Regions from separate parts of the Homo sapiens genome. Here regions 1, 2 and 4 are each linked to region 3. The links are contacts of gene promoters, found by promoter capture Hi-C in human tissues and cell types (Jung and others, 2019). All regions are on one chromosome and are shown on one strand. Each heading gives the region's core, a stretch centred on a gene start or on the middle of the fragment in contact. The rest is flanking DNA. Distances are from core to core; before and after follow the strand shown. Region 1 has its middle 56 kb from the start of RORB. Region 2 overlaps RORB (RAR related orphan receptor B). Region 3 holds the start of RORB (RAR related orphan receptor B). Region 4 has its middle 38 kb from the start of RORB.

Region 1 (2,729 bases), core at 121-2,620, 56 kb before region 3:
GTAATCCCAGCACTTTGGGAAGCCGGGAGGGAAGATTGCTTGAGGCTGAGTTCAAGACCAACATGGCCAACATTTCAAGACCCAGCCTCTATTAAAAAAGAAAAAAAACACACATATGAACAATTACAAAACACAAACATGAAGAAAGTCTTAACAAAGTTCAAAGAATAAATATTATACAGGTCACATTTTCTTTCTTCTTTCTTTCCTTTTTATTTATTTATTTTTTAATAATTTCAACTTTTATTTTAGATTCAGGGGGTGCATGTGCAGGTTTGTTGCCTGGGTATATTGTTTGATGCTGAGGTTTGGGATATAACTGATCCCATCAACCAGGTACTGGGCATTGTACCCAATAGTTTCAACCTTTTCCACTTCCCCTGTAAGTCCCCAGTGTCTACTGCTGTAATCTCAATGTCCATGAATACCCATTGTTTAGTTCCCACTTATAAGTGAGAACATGTGGTATTTGGTTTTCTGTTCTTGCATTAACTTACTTAGGATACTAGCCTCAAGCTGCATCCATGTTGCTATAAAGAACATGATTTCACTCTTTTTATAGCTGCATAATATTCCATGGAGTATACGTACCACATTTTCTTTATTGATTTCATGTCTTTGCTGTCAAATGACATGTTTTCTTAATTTCCATTTCAAGACAATTGAAATAGAATTTTCAGATAAAATACAGGACATCTAATTAAATATGAATTCCAGATAAATAAATAAATTTTTAGTAAAAGCATGTTCCCTACAATATTTGATACATGCTTAAATTTAAAAATTATTTGTTGTTTATCTGAAATTCAAATTTCACTGGGCATCCTGTATTTTTATTTTCTAAATCTGGCAATCCTATAAATATAAATCATCAATAAAGATACAGAAAACCAAAGCAAAACAAAACCTAGACTATGCTTTTCTAAAAAATATACTCCAAATGTACTCTCTGCATATTAGATCAAAAGAAAATTAAGAAGAAAAGTATCTGAATGAAAAGGGAATGGCAAGGACAAAAGACCCACCCTTCCAGATATTCAAACCATTATAAGGCTTTGGTTTTTAAACATGGTAGTATTGCTGCAGAAATAGATACAGAAGGCAGTGAAGCAGAATTGACACACGCATCCTTATATGAAAATTGGGCATTTGACAGAGGTGATATTACAAGCCCAAGGCTGACAAATGAGTTTTTAATAAGACTCATTGTAACAGTTTATTTTCAAAATGGAAAATAAAGTTACGTTACCTCTCAACATGAAATTTCTTTTTATAAATATTGAAAACAAATTAAAAACTTAAAGCTTTAGAAGAATATATAGAATATCTATTTGAGGTCAAGTTAGGAAAGGATTGTCTTATAGAGAGCACAAAAGAGTACATGAAAAAATATTAATAGCATTGTCTCATTGTCTCTGCATCTTCAAAAAAATGTCTATGGAAAACGAAAAGACTAGCTACAAACTGAGCAAAGGTACTTTCATTACATATGATCAACAAGGGATAATTAGTAGCAAGTATATGTAAAGAACTCATACAAATAAGCAAGAGAAAAGCAAATAACTCGATAGAAAAATGGGCATATGATATCAAGAAATAATTTATAGGAAAGGGACAATTTGAACTTCCAGTAACTGAAAAGATGTTCAACCACACTAATAATTGGATAGATGAATTATATCACCTAAAAGATAGGCAAAAGAAATAAAAATAAAAATATGTAAATGACAAGTATTGTCTGATTTCAAAAGTAACTCTGCCCTTTATTAGTTATATCACTATGGCAAGTTATTTAATCTGTCTATGTCAGTTTCTCATCAGTAAAATGAGAACATTAAAGCAACTTTGTCACAGAATTGTAAAGAGAATTAAATGAGTTTGTGTTTTCAAAATTCTGAGAACAGAACGTGCCCATTTTTAAGCATTATATAACTTTTTGCCAGATGAAAGAAATATTGGCAAGGATGTAGGAAAGTGGGAGCTCTCCATGCCTGTGAGTAGAGGTGTATTTTGGAACCCCTACATCGGAAGGCATCTTGATAATGTCTAGTTGAAGTTGAAATGTGTATAATTCTAATTTTAACAAGCAGAATACATTCCTAAAACAGCTATGATTTTCCTTGAAAACAGTGTTGAGTCAATAAAGCAAGTTGCAGAATTATGCATATTGTCTAATATCAATTACATTGTTTAAAAACAAAATAGTGTAGTATAGTATTATGAGCACACAAATACACAGCAAAATATAAAGCACAGTCAAGAAGGACACATGCCGACTTCATGACAGTGGTTACTTGATGGAGAAAGCAGTTTGCATTGGGGATAAGTTGAGCAAAATTTAAAGATAATATGGCAAAAGTTGGCATTTGCTAGTTCTAGGTGCAAAGGATTTTGTTACGTTTCTTTTTCTGGTGTTCTCTGCTTTTGAAATATGTGTCATTGAAGATACATGAATTTTTCAACAGGGATTTAAGGAAACTGGTACATAAAAATCTATATTTCATATATTAACAATAAAGATTATTATATTTTATAAAACATAATTATAGAGCATGTAAAATTTTAGTCATTTTGAATGTAAAAATGAATAAAATAGTCCTAATTGAAAGTTTCTTGATTATTGAAATATTTACAACCAAATAATGATAATATTACTATTAGAAATAGTAATGATATGTATTCTAACTAGTTATCTTTTTGAAGCAATTCCGTCGAGGTGGGGGAGGAAA
Region 2 (3,076 bases), core at 228-2,727, 51 kb after region 3:
ATGAAGCATGGCACAGAGCAAGAATGGAAGAGATGGGATCTGAGGTGTCAGGAACCTGGCTTTAAATAAGGTGGTGGTTTGAACTTGGAGGGAAGAAGGATGAAAGGAAGAAGGATGGGTAAAGCCTACTAAGATTTAGAGCTAGAGAAGAGGGAAAATAGGTGATGATTAAAAATCTGTCAGTTAAGCAAGGACCGAAGACCTTCTACCAATATTGAAGGAGATAGAGTTAGGATTGGGGAACCAAAATTGGAGGTTTATCACAGCCAATTTGGGAAATTCTAATAGTAAACCCAAGAGGCTTGCAATTTTAAATAGAGTTGTCAGGGAGGCCTCACTAAAATGATGATATTTGTACCCAGATCTGAAGTTGGTAAGGGAGTAAGGGATGTGGATATCTGCTTAACAGCACCCCAAGCAAGAGGAATAGCCTGTGCAAAGGCCCTGAGGTAGGAGACCACCCAATATGTTAAAAGAACAGCAGTGTGTGAGAAGATGAGGTCACAGAATTAATAAGGGGAGGAGAGACAGTGACTCCTATGACCCATGATTACATAAGATGTTGTACAACATTGTAAAGAATTTATTTTTATGTTAAGTAAAATAGGAATTCATTCAAGGGTAGAATGGAGAGTGATATTATCTGACATGTTTTTTAAAAATCCTGGCTGCAGAAAATAGGCTGAAAGGAGGCAAGTAAGAAACCAGGAAGACCAACTACCAGGCTACTGTAATAATCCAGGCTAGAAATTAGAGTGACTTAGACCAGAAATGTAGCTCTGAAAATGGTTTAAATTGTTTTTAATGTTGAGTTTTCAATATAGTTTTTAAAGAAAGAACAAATAGGTTGCTGATGGATTAAATATGGAGTGTGAGAAAGCACTCAAAAAATGACTCCCCATGTTTTTTAGCAAGAGCAGCCAGGTCATAACGTTACCCATAACGGCATGACCGTGTGGGGAGAGGGTGAGGGCGGGGCAGATCAGGAGCTAATGAGTGTGAGTTAGCTGTTAGTATTGTAGCTTCTCTTATGATCACCTTCTCTTATCCTAGAAATTATCTTTTTTTCATTGAGTGGCATTGGCTTTATTGAGATTATAAATTAGGTATTTTTTTATATTTGGAAAGATCTTCACAACTTCAGCTTCTCTGAAGCAGCAGTTTCTGCTGGTTGAGAAGTATGAGAAAACTATAATTTCAAAATAATGCAGGGACAAACCCTACACTGGAAATGAGCTTTCTGGTTAGAAAATATTTTCTTTATCCCATGGAATTCACTACTTCTTGTCCAGATTAATTCTTTTTAGTGTTTCTTATTTTGCAATTTACTTTTTCAGAATAAGTGGATTTACAGCATAATCTAGGTTTGCTGCACAAACAGCACACTGCACAACTTTGTTTATGTTGTGGCTTCTTGCTCCCTAGAGTGGCTCGGTGCAGCTACCCTGAGAGCAGTGTGAACTTCGAAAGTAATAACTGGTCATTGCAGAGAATGTGGAAAATGCAGAAACATAAAGAAAAAATAAACATGTTAAAATATGTCAGTGAATTCTCTTCCAGCCTTATTTTCTATACATAATACCGTAAACAAATTTAGTATTCTACTCTTTTCATTGAAAATATTCTAAGGATTTTTTTATGGTTTCAGTTATTTTTCATGAACTTTCATGGTGATCCGTAATATGGATAATACCTCTTATGTGTTTAATAATTGCATCATTATTGGATATTTATGTTCTTTTAAATAAAATATATTAAAAATAATGCTATTTCAATCTTTTATTTAAATTTTCAATCCTTTATTTAAATCTTTGACCACATGAAAATGCGATATTGCATCAAATGGTATCTGTGTTTAAAAACTTTTGAAATATGCGTACTGCTCAGTTGCTTTCTGTGAAAGTTGTACCTGTTTATATTCTCAGCCACATTGTTTAAGACTGCTTGTCAGCCGGCTGCAGTGGCTCACGCCTGTAATCCCAACACTTTGGGAGGCTGAGGCGGGCGGATCACCTGAGGTCAGGAGTTTGAGACCAGCCTGGCTAACACGGTGAAACCGTCTCTACTAAAAATACAAAAATTAGCTGGGCATGGGAGCAGGCGCCTGTAATCCCAGCTACTCAGGAGGCTGAGGCAGGGGAATCGCTTGAACCCAGGAGGCGGAGGTTGCAGTGAGCCGAGGTCGCATCACCGCACTCCAGCCTGGGCAACAGAGCAAAATTCCGTCAAAAAAAAAAAAAGAAGAAAGAGAGAGAGAGAGAGGTAGGGAGGGAGAGAGAGAGAGAAAGAAAGAAAGGGAAAGAAGGGAGGGAGGGAGGGAGGGAGGGAGGGAGGGAAGGAAGGAAGGAAGGAAGGAAGGAAGGAAGGAAGGAAGGAAGGAAGGAAGGAAGGAAGAAAGGAAGGAAGGAAGGAAGAAAGGAAAGAAAGAAAGAAAGAGAGAAGAGACTGCTTGTAGGATTATCTGTATTTTTTGACTGCTTGTAGGATTAACTGTATTTTTTGACTGCTTGTAGGATTATGTGTGTGTGTTTGAGACGGAATTTTGCTCTGTCACCCAGGCTGGAGTGCAGTGGCGCGATCTGGGCTCACTGCGACCCTCCGCCTCCCGGGTTCAAGCGATTCTCCTGTCTTAGCCTCCCGAGTAGTTGGGATTACAGGTGTGTGCCACTACGCCCGGCTAATCTTTTGCATTTTTAGTAGAGACGGGGTTTCACCATGTTGGCCAGGCTGGTCGCGAACTCCTGACCTCAGGTGATCTGCCTGCCTCAGCCTCCCAAAGTAGGATTACAGGCATGAGCCCCTGCGCCCGGCCGATTATGTGTATTTCTAATTCCCTTTCTTCTGGCCACACTAAGCAATTGCATCAATTTAGAAACGTGAATTCAAAATGTTCTTATCAATATTTTCTTAAGTATTGTAAAATATTTTATGTTGTACCACTGTTAAATAATTTGATATTTTTAAAGTGGAATATGTTTTTAATCTCTGGCATTTTTTCACTTAAAGAAGAAAAAAAATCTATGTTTGAAAATATAGATTGTTTAAAGTCACTTGCAAATACCAATCTAGATGACAT
Region 3 (3,102 bases), core at 209-2,708:
ATGACTCAATCAACTTTCACTCTTAATACTAAAATTTTCCTAAATTACACATTGGTTTGCAAATGGGATGGCATATAGCAGGGCTACGTCAATTTAATACTGGTGAAAATTCAGCAGATAATTCATTTTTCATTTAATCAGGAAGGAAAAAACTACTTGGCAGTGTAGAGCGACCTAATTAACTAAATAACTGCCAATTCTACATTGTACTTTGTGTTACATGACATATCATGAATAAATACCAGTCAAAAATCAAATTATTTGGATACTTAAATGATGATGAGGCCTGCTGTGCCAACAGGTATGCTAATGAGTAGACATCTCCCAGCCTCAAGACTGAGTGAATGAGGCAAATATTTTCACCTCCCAATCTTTTAGGGTGTTCAATTAACTCAAGTATTTAAGAAGTTCCCTACTATTGGGAAGGAAGTAGATGTAATCATCTATATGCTTATTTTGTCAACTGAGTTGGAAAAACTTGCAAAGGAACAGTTTGGATATATGTATTAGATTTTTATCAAAATACAAATAAATGGTCATAGATGACAATTTTCACCTAAGGAATACAAGTAAGTTTATCTATGTTCAGTTACCAATCGCCTCTAACTAAAGTTAACAATGTCTTCCTTCTAAAACCTTTCTAAAGAGCACCCTGCAATCACACCTTCTAGCAACAGCCATTTCTCTTGAATTAGTAAGGTGGCTACACCGCCAATTTGAGCTGTTCTCCTTCAGTCCTGTAGTCCATCGCCAGGGGAGTCTCCAAATGCTAATAAAAATCAATTTCCCAGACAAAAGAACATATACACGTTTTTTTCTTTCTTTCTTTCTTTTTTTTTTTTTTTTAGAAGAGGGTCAGGGAGCATCTGACGGACGTTTTTAAAGGAAGGGGACAGCTACTTCCATGGGACTGCATTTTAGTTGTGCTAAAAGTGATGAAAGTGGGTTTGCATTATTCTACCACCAACACCCAAACCACCTGCCCACGGAAACCCCCGCCGGAGACCGAAGTTTACCCAAATAGCGCTCGGCAAAGCGCTGCCATAAATTCAAAACTAACTCTGCCGGGCCCGCGGGGGTTGCGAGACAGGGACCGAACGTGAAACCCGGGGAGCCCCGCGTCTCTTGCCTCCGAAGGTTTTCCGTGATCAGTGTCCCCTTCTCTGCTGGAGTCGGAAGTGCCTGTCACCTGCGGATCTGCCCGACTCTCCCGGTCGGCCCTTCTTCTCTGCCCAGTTCGGACAGTCTCGAATTCCCCGTCGCAGCCCCGGCCACCTCGGACTCCCTGGTCCCCAGCCCCCGCCCCACCCCCCGCCTCCACCACGTCCCCTCCCCGCGGTCCCAGCCTCTCCAGGCGCTGCTGGGCTCTGATTGGCGGCTGCGCTGACAGCAGGCGGGGCCTGGAAGTCGCGGCCAAGCCCGCCCTCGCGTATAAGCCCCTCTCAGCGCTCTCTCTCCATCTCTCCCCTCTCTTTCTCTCTCGCTGCTCCCTTCCTCCCTGTAACTGAACAGTGAAAATTCACATTGTGGATCCGCTAACAGGCACAGATGTCATGTGAAAACGCACATGCTCTGCCATCCACACCGCCTTTCTTTCTTTTCTTTCTGTTTCCTTTTTTCCCCCTTGTTCCTTCTCCCTCTTCTTTGTAACTAACAAAACCACCACCAACTCCTCCTCCTGCTGCTGCCCTTCCTCCTCCTCCTCAGTCCAAGTGATCACAAAAGAAATCTTCTGAGCCGGAGGCGGTGGCATTTTTTAAAAAGCAAGCACATTGGAGAGAAAGAAAAAGAAAAACAAAACCAAAACAAAACCCAGGCACCAGACAGCCAGAACATTTTTTTTTCACCCTTCCTGAAAACAAACAAACAAACAAACAATCATCAAAACAGTCACCACCAACATCAAAACTGTTAACATAGCGGCGGCGGCGGCAAACGTCACCCTGCAGCCACGGCGTCCGCCTAAAGGGATGGTTTTCTCGGCAGAGCAGCTCTTCGCCGACCACCTTCTTCACTCGTGCTGAGCGGGATTTTTGGGCTCTCCGGGGTTCGGGCTGGGAGCAGCTTCATGACTACGCGGAGCGGGAGAGCGGCCACACCATGCGAGGTAAGCGAGTCTGCGGGCACCGAGGCTCCCCGAGTCCGGCCAACTCCAGCCAGACGGGGAGATGGGGGAGGGGAGGGCACCCAGCAGAAAGGGAAAGAGGTTGCCCAGGCGCAGTTCCCCGAATTCGCTCTCGCAGGTGGGGCTGCAAATGGCCTGGGCGTAGAAAGTTGCGGGAAGGTGTTGATGTCTTTCGGGAGTTCTGGAGGGACGCGGGAGGGCGCTTTTTTGGAGAGGGGAGACAGGCTAGTTGGTTCTTACCAGTCCTTGAGTTGCACTGAATCTTTTTTGCTTGTCGCTCTCGGGTGCGGAAGCGGACGCGGGATGGAGAAAGCCGAAAGAGGGATGCCTCTGGACAGGAGCAGTTTGGAAGCGCCCGGCGCGCAGTGGTCGCCGGCCGGGTTTGGGCGCGCGGGGCGCACCGGCCGGGGGCAGGGTGGACACGCGCGGGCACACACTCGCCAGGTTACGAGGCCCACTAAGCGTCCTGGCCAGCAGGCATGTCCCTTCGCTGGAGTAGCAAGCAGAAGAGCAGTGCTGCGAGGCTGGACGCGGCTGAGGAAACAGTTAGTTCCCCGGCACGCGGCTGAGGAAACAGTTCTGCGGCGCGCGCCTTCGTGCCGGCGCTGCGCCCTGGCCAGGTCCTCGTGCCCGAGCCCGCGCGGCCCAGGGAGTAGTGCGACCCCGGAAAAGTTGTAATGAGAAAGTTCTGGAGGCTTGGAAAGGCCACACTGCTCACAGTCGGAGAGTCATGGGCTCCGGCTCTTTTGTCAGATAAAGGGCCGGTAGTGGAAGGAGGTGCTGGTGCACCCTCGGGCCAGGACCCTCGCAGTCGCAGGCGGTGGCGGCGGCGGCGGCGGGACCCCGGGGCGAGCTGGGGTCTGCAGGGATGCGCGCCAGGGACTGTAGCGTTACGCTTGCTCCGGCTGGACTCTGGGCCTCTCGAAGGGCTGGAGGGTGGGTTTCGGGGAGTCACTTGGTCTCCTCTCCTGCCTTGC
Region 4 (2,973 bases), core at 50-2,549, 39 kb before region 3:
ATCTCAGGAGGGTTTGTGCATGTATGTGGAAATTGACAAATGAATCCTAAGATTTCTTTGTAAATATAAGAAGCTAAAACCAGGTAAGTCAAAATTGGAAAAGAAGAAAAAAAGAGTAAGTATTTTTGTACCAGACTTTGACTTACTTTTGAAGATACAGTAATAGAGACCATGTGGAATTTGTCCAAGGGTAGCTAAATTAATAATGAAATAGAAAATATAGTCCAGAAACAGATCCACACATACATGAACTCTTGAATTATGATAAAAGTGGTACTGAAGAGTGACAGAAAAGTACAGTCTTTTCTCTCTTTTTGTGGGGGCGGGGGGCGGGGGATGGAGTCTTGTTTTGTCACGCAGGCTGGAGTGCAGTAGCGCAGTGTCGGCTCCCTGCAACCTCTGCCTCGTGGGTTCAAGCAATTCTCTTGCCTCAGCCTCCCAAGTAGCTGGGATTACAGAAGCGTGCCACCATGCTCAGCTAATTTTTGTATTTTTAGTACAGGCAGGGTTTCACCATGTTGGCCAGGCTGGTCTTGAACTCCTGACCTCTTGATCTGCCCCCCTCAGCCTCCCAAAGTGCTGGGGTTACAGGCGTGAGCCACCGCGCCTGGCTGAAAAGTACAGTCTTTTCAATAAATGGTGCTGAGTCAGTGAGATAGACGTATGGGGAAAAAAAGAAACTTGACCCCAACTTCTGACTATATGCAAAAATCAATTTCAAGTGAATAGTAGAATTAAAAGTAAAAGATAAACAATAAAGCATCTAGAAGATAATAGCTTCATGATCTTGATATGAGCAAAGGTTCTTTTAAAATGACACAATAATCCCTATATTTAAAGAAAAACATGTTAAATCGGACCCTATTAAGACAATGAACTTCTGGTTATCAAAAGTAACAAAAAAGTAAATAGGCAATAAGAGAAGATATTTGCAGCACACATACCCAAGAAAACGTTTGTATCCACAATATATAAAGAACTACAAATCATTCAGTAATAGACAAACAGCCAAAAGGGAGGAAAGAAAGACATGAAGAAGCACTTTACAAAAAGAAAGAAAAAAAACCCTCTTATTATATAAAAATGGTCTGTAAACATTTGTAAGGGTGCTTAACTTTATTAGTTATAGGGAAATGCAAATTAAAGCCACAAAAAGATGAAGTACACAGCCACCAAAGAACTAAAGTTAAGAAGACTGACAATGCCACATGCTATTGAGGAGCAGCACTGGGAACTATCATAAAAGGATGATAGTGATTAAATTGATACAGTCACTCAGAAAAATTGTTTGGCAATATATGTAAAGGTTAAACTTAACATACCATGACTAGCAATAACACTCCTAAATATATGCCAATGTTAAATAAAACAAGCAGGAGGCCATCAGCCTGACGCTGTCTCTTTAATTTGAGTTCCTACACTAAAAAGCACAACGTAATTTAGTAGCATTTTTTTGTAAGAAATAGCCAGGTTTCAGCCAATCACAAACAGCTGAGCCTCAGTCAATCACAGGCAGCCAACTAATCAGACTGTGCCTAAATAAGACAAATGCCTCATCACAGCGTGCCTAAGAAGCAAATGCTTAGCTAGTCCATCAGGTGATTTCTCTACTTTGCTTCCCTGCTCAGCCTATAAAAGCTTACTGCTCATGCTGCTGGGCAGAACTCTGATCCTCTTCTGGTTCTGAGTGCTGCCCAATCATGAATCATTCTTTGCCCAAATAAACGCTATTAAATTTAATTTCTCTAAAGTTTTTCTTTTAACAGTTTGGCATTACAGCACGAAGTGACTGAGCAAAGCTACCCACTGAAACCACTGGGCGCATTGCTTTCTTGCCTAAATTGGAAGTCAAGGATGAGTTTCCTCTCAGATCAAAGGTCTGCAAATCTGCATTTTGAGCTCCAGACTTTATTTGAACAATTCTTTTACAGAACAGAATTTGCAATTGGATTCAATCTAATAAATAACTAGGTTCCTCCTCCTTGAAAGTAGGTTTCTCCAAATCTGAAGAGTCTGGTGCTTCAGAAGTCTGGGACTCTTTTTTCTGGGACACTGACAACTTTTATGTACAATAAAGATGATTTCAGAAACCATGTATTTTGGGGGAAATGGTTAGCCTTACTATGGAAGACTTAGAATTACGGTGGCCACAATGAGGAAGCTTTAACTTGAGAGGCGCTTTAAAAAAGAAAGGATGCAGCAGGGCCCGGTGGCTCACGCCTGTAATCCCAGCACTTTGGGAGGCCGAGGCGGGTGGATCACGAGGTCAGGAGATCGAGACCACCCTGGCTAACACAGTGAAACCCCGTCTCTAGTAAAAATACAAAAAATTAGCCCAGCGTGGTGGTGGGCACCTGCAGTCCCAGCTACTTGGGAGGCTGAGGCAGGAGAATGACGTGAACCCGGGAGGCGGAGCTTGCAGTGAGCCAAGATCATGCCACTGCACTCCAGCCTGGGCAACAGAGCGAGACTCCATCTCAAAAAATAATAATAAATAAAAAATAAAAAAATAAAATAAATTAAAAAAGAAAGGATGCAGGACACCTCTAATAGAATGGAATGTATTTTTGACTGTCATGCAAGAACTTCTAAAAGACTAAACAAATCAAAACACTGCCTCTTTGTAAGAATCCTCATAAAATTCAAATGAAAAATCTTAAAACTCTTTTTCAGATATATTAGTAAAAACTTTAGCTATCTAGATGGATAACCCTGTTCCATCAACCAGAAAAACAAAAAAGGATTCAGAGATTTTTTTTAATGAATTAGTGAGTTTTGTGTTATTTTACCTAACACATGGCTAAAATTTTTGAATGAAAGCCTGTATGTTTATATTTATGTATGTGTGTACATATGCATGTGTGCGTGGTATTTTTCTATTTCTGCACAGTATTGACAAAATTAATTAATTTTTTTTTTTTAAAGCTCTGGCCAGGCGCATTGGCTCACACCTGTAATCCCAGCACTTTGGAA

The links. Contacts are between HindIII fragments. The study calls those that stand out against the background at their distance.
Region 1: a contact is called between a fragment that was not itself captured here and the fragment with the promoter of RORB in region 3, in 3 of the 25 tissues and cell types used here (adrenal gland, aorta and mesenchymal stem cells).
Region 2: a fragment that was not itself captured here is called in contact with the fragment with the promoter of RORB in region 3 in 1 of the 25 tissues and cell types used here (dorsolateral prefrontal cortex).
Region 4: a fragment that was not itself captured here is called in contact with the fragment with the promoter of RORB in region 3 in 5 of the 25 tissues and cell types used here (aorta, dorsolateral prefrontal cortex, lymphoblastoid cells and 2 more).

What each region holds. Positions count from the first base shown.
Region 1 is chr9:74,440,313-74,443,041 of GRCh38, forward strand. No RefSeq gene overlaps it. Among named protein-coding and RNA genes, the nearest start is that of RORB, 56 kb to the right of the region's middle. The HindIII fragment of the contact is 3,059 bases long and covers 1-2,729 here.
Region 2 is chr9:74,547,215-74,550,290 of GRCh38, forward strand. All of the region lies in intron 1 of RORB (RAR related orphan receptor B), which reads left to right. Among named protein-coding and RNA genes, the nearest start is that of RORB-AS1, 50 kb to the left of the region's middle. The HindIII fragment of the contact is 5,181 bases long and covers 1-3,076 here.
Region 3 is chr9:74,495,877-74,498,978 of GRCh38, forward strand. It overlaps RORB (RAR related orphan receptor B), which reads left to right and starts at 1,459. Exons shown (of 10, transcript NM_006914.4): 1 at 1,459-2,107. The coding sequence starts at 2,101. It overlaps RORB-AS1 (RORB antisense RNA 1), which reads right to left and starts at 2,677. Exons shown (of 5, transcript NR_125791.1): 1 at 2,366-2,677. RefSeq lists silencers at 1,095-1,307, 1,303-1,492, 1,397-1,691. The HindIII fragment of the contact is 7,823 bases long and covers 1-3,102 here.
Region 4 is chr9:74,457,491-74,460,463 of GRCh38, forward strand. No RefSeq gene overlaps it. Among named protein-coding and RNA genes, the nearest start is that of RORB, 38 kb to the right of the region's middle. The HindIII fragment of the contact is 4,336 bases long and covers 1-2,973 here.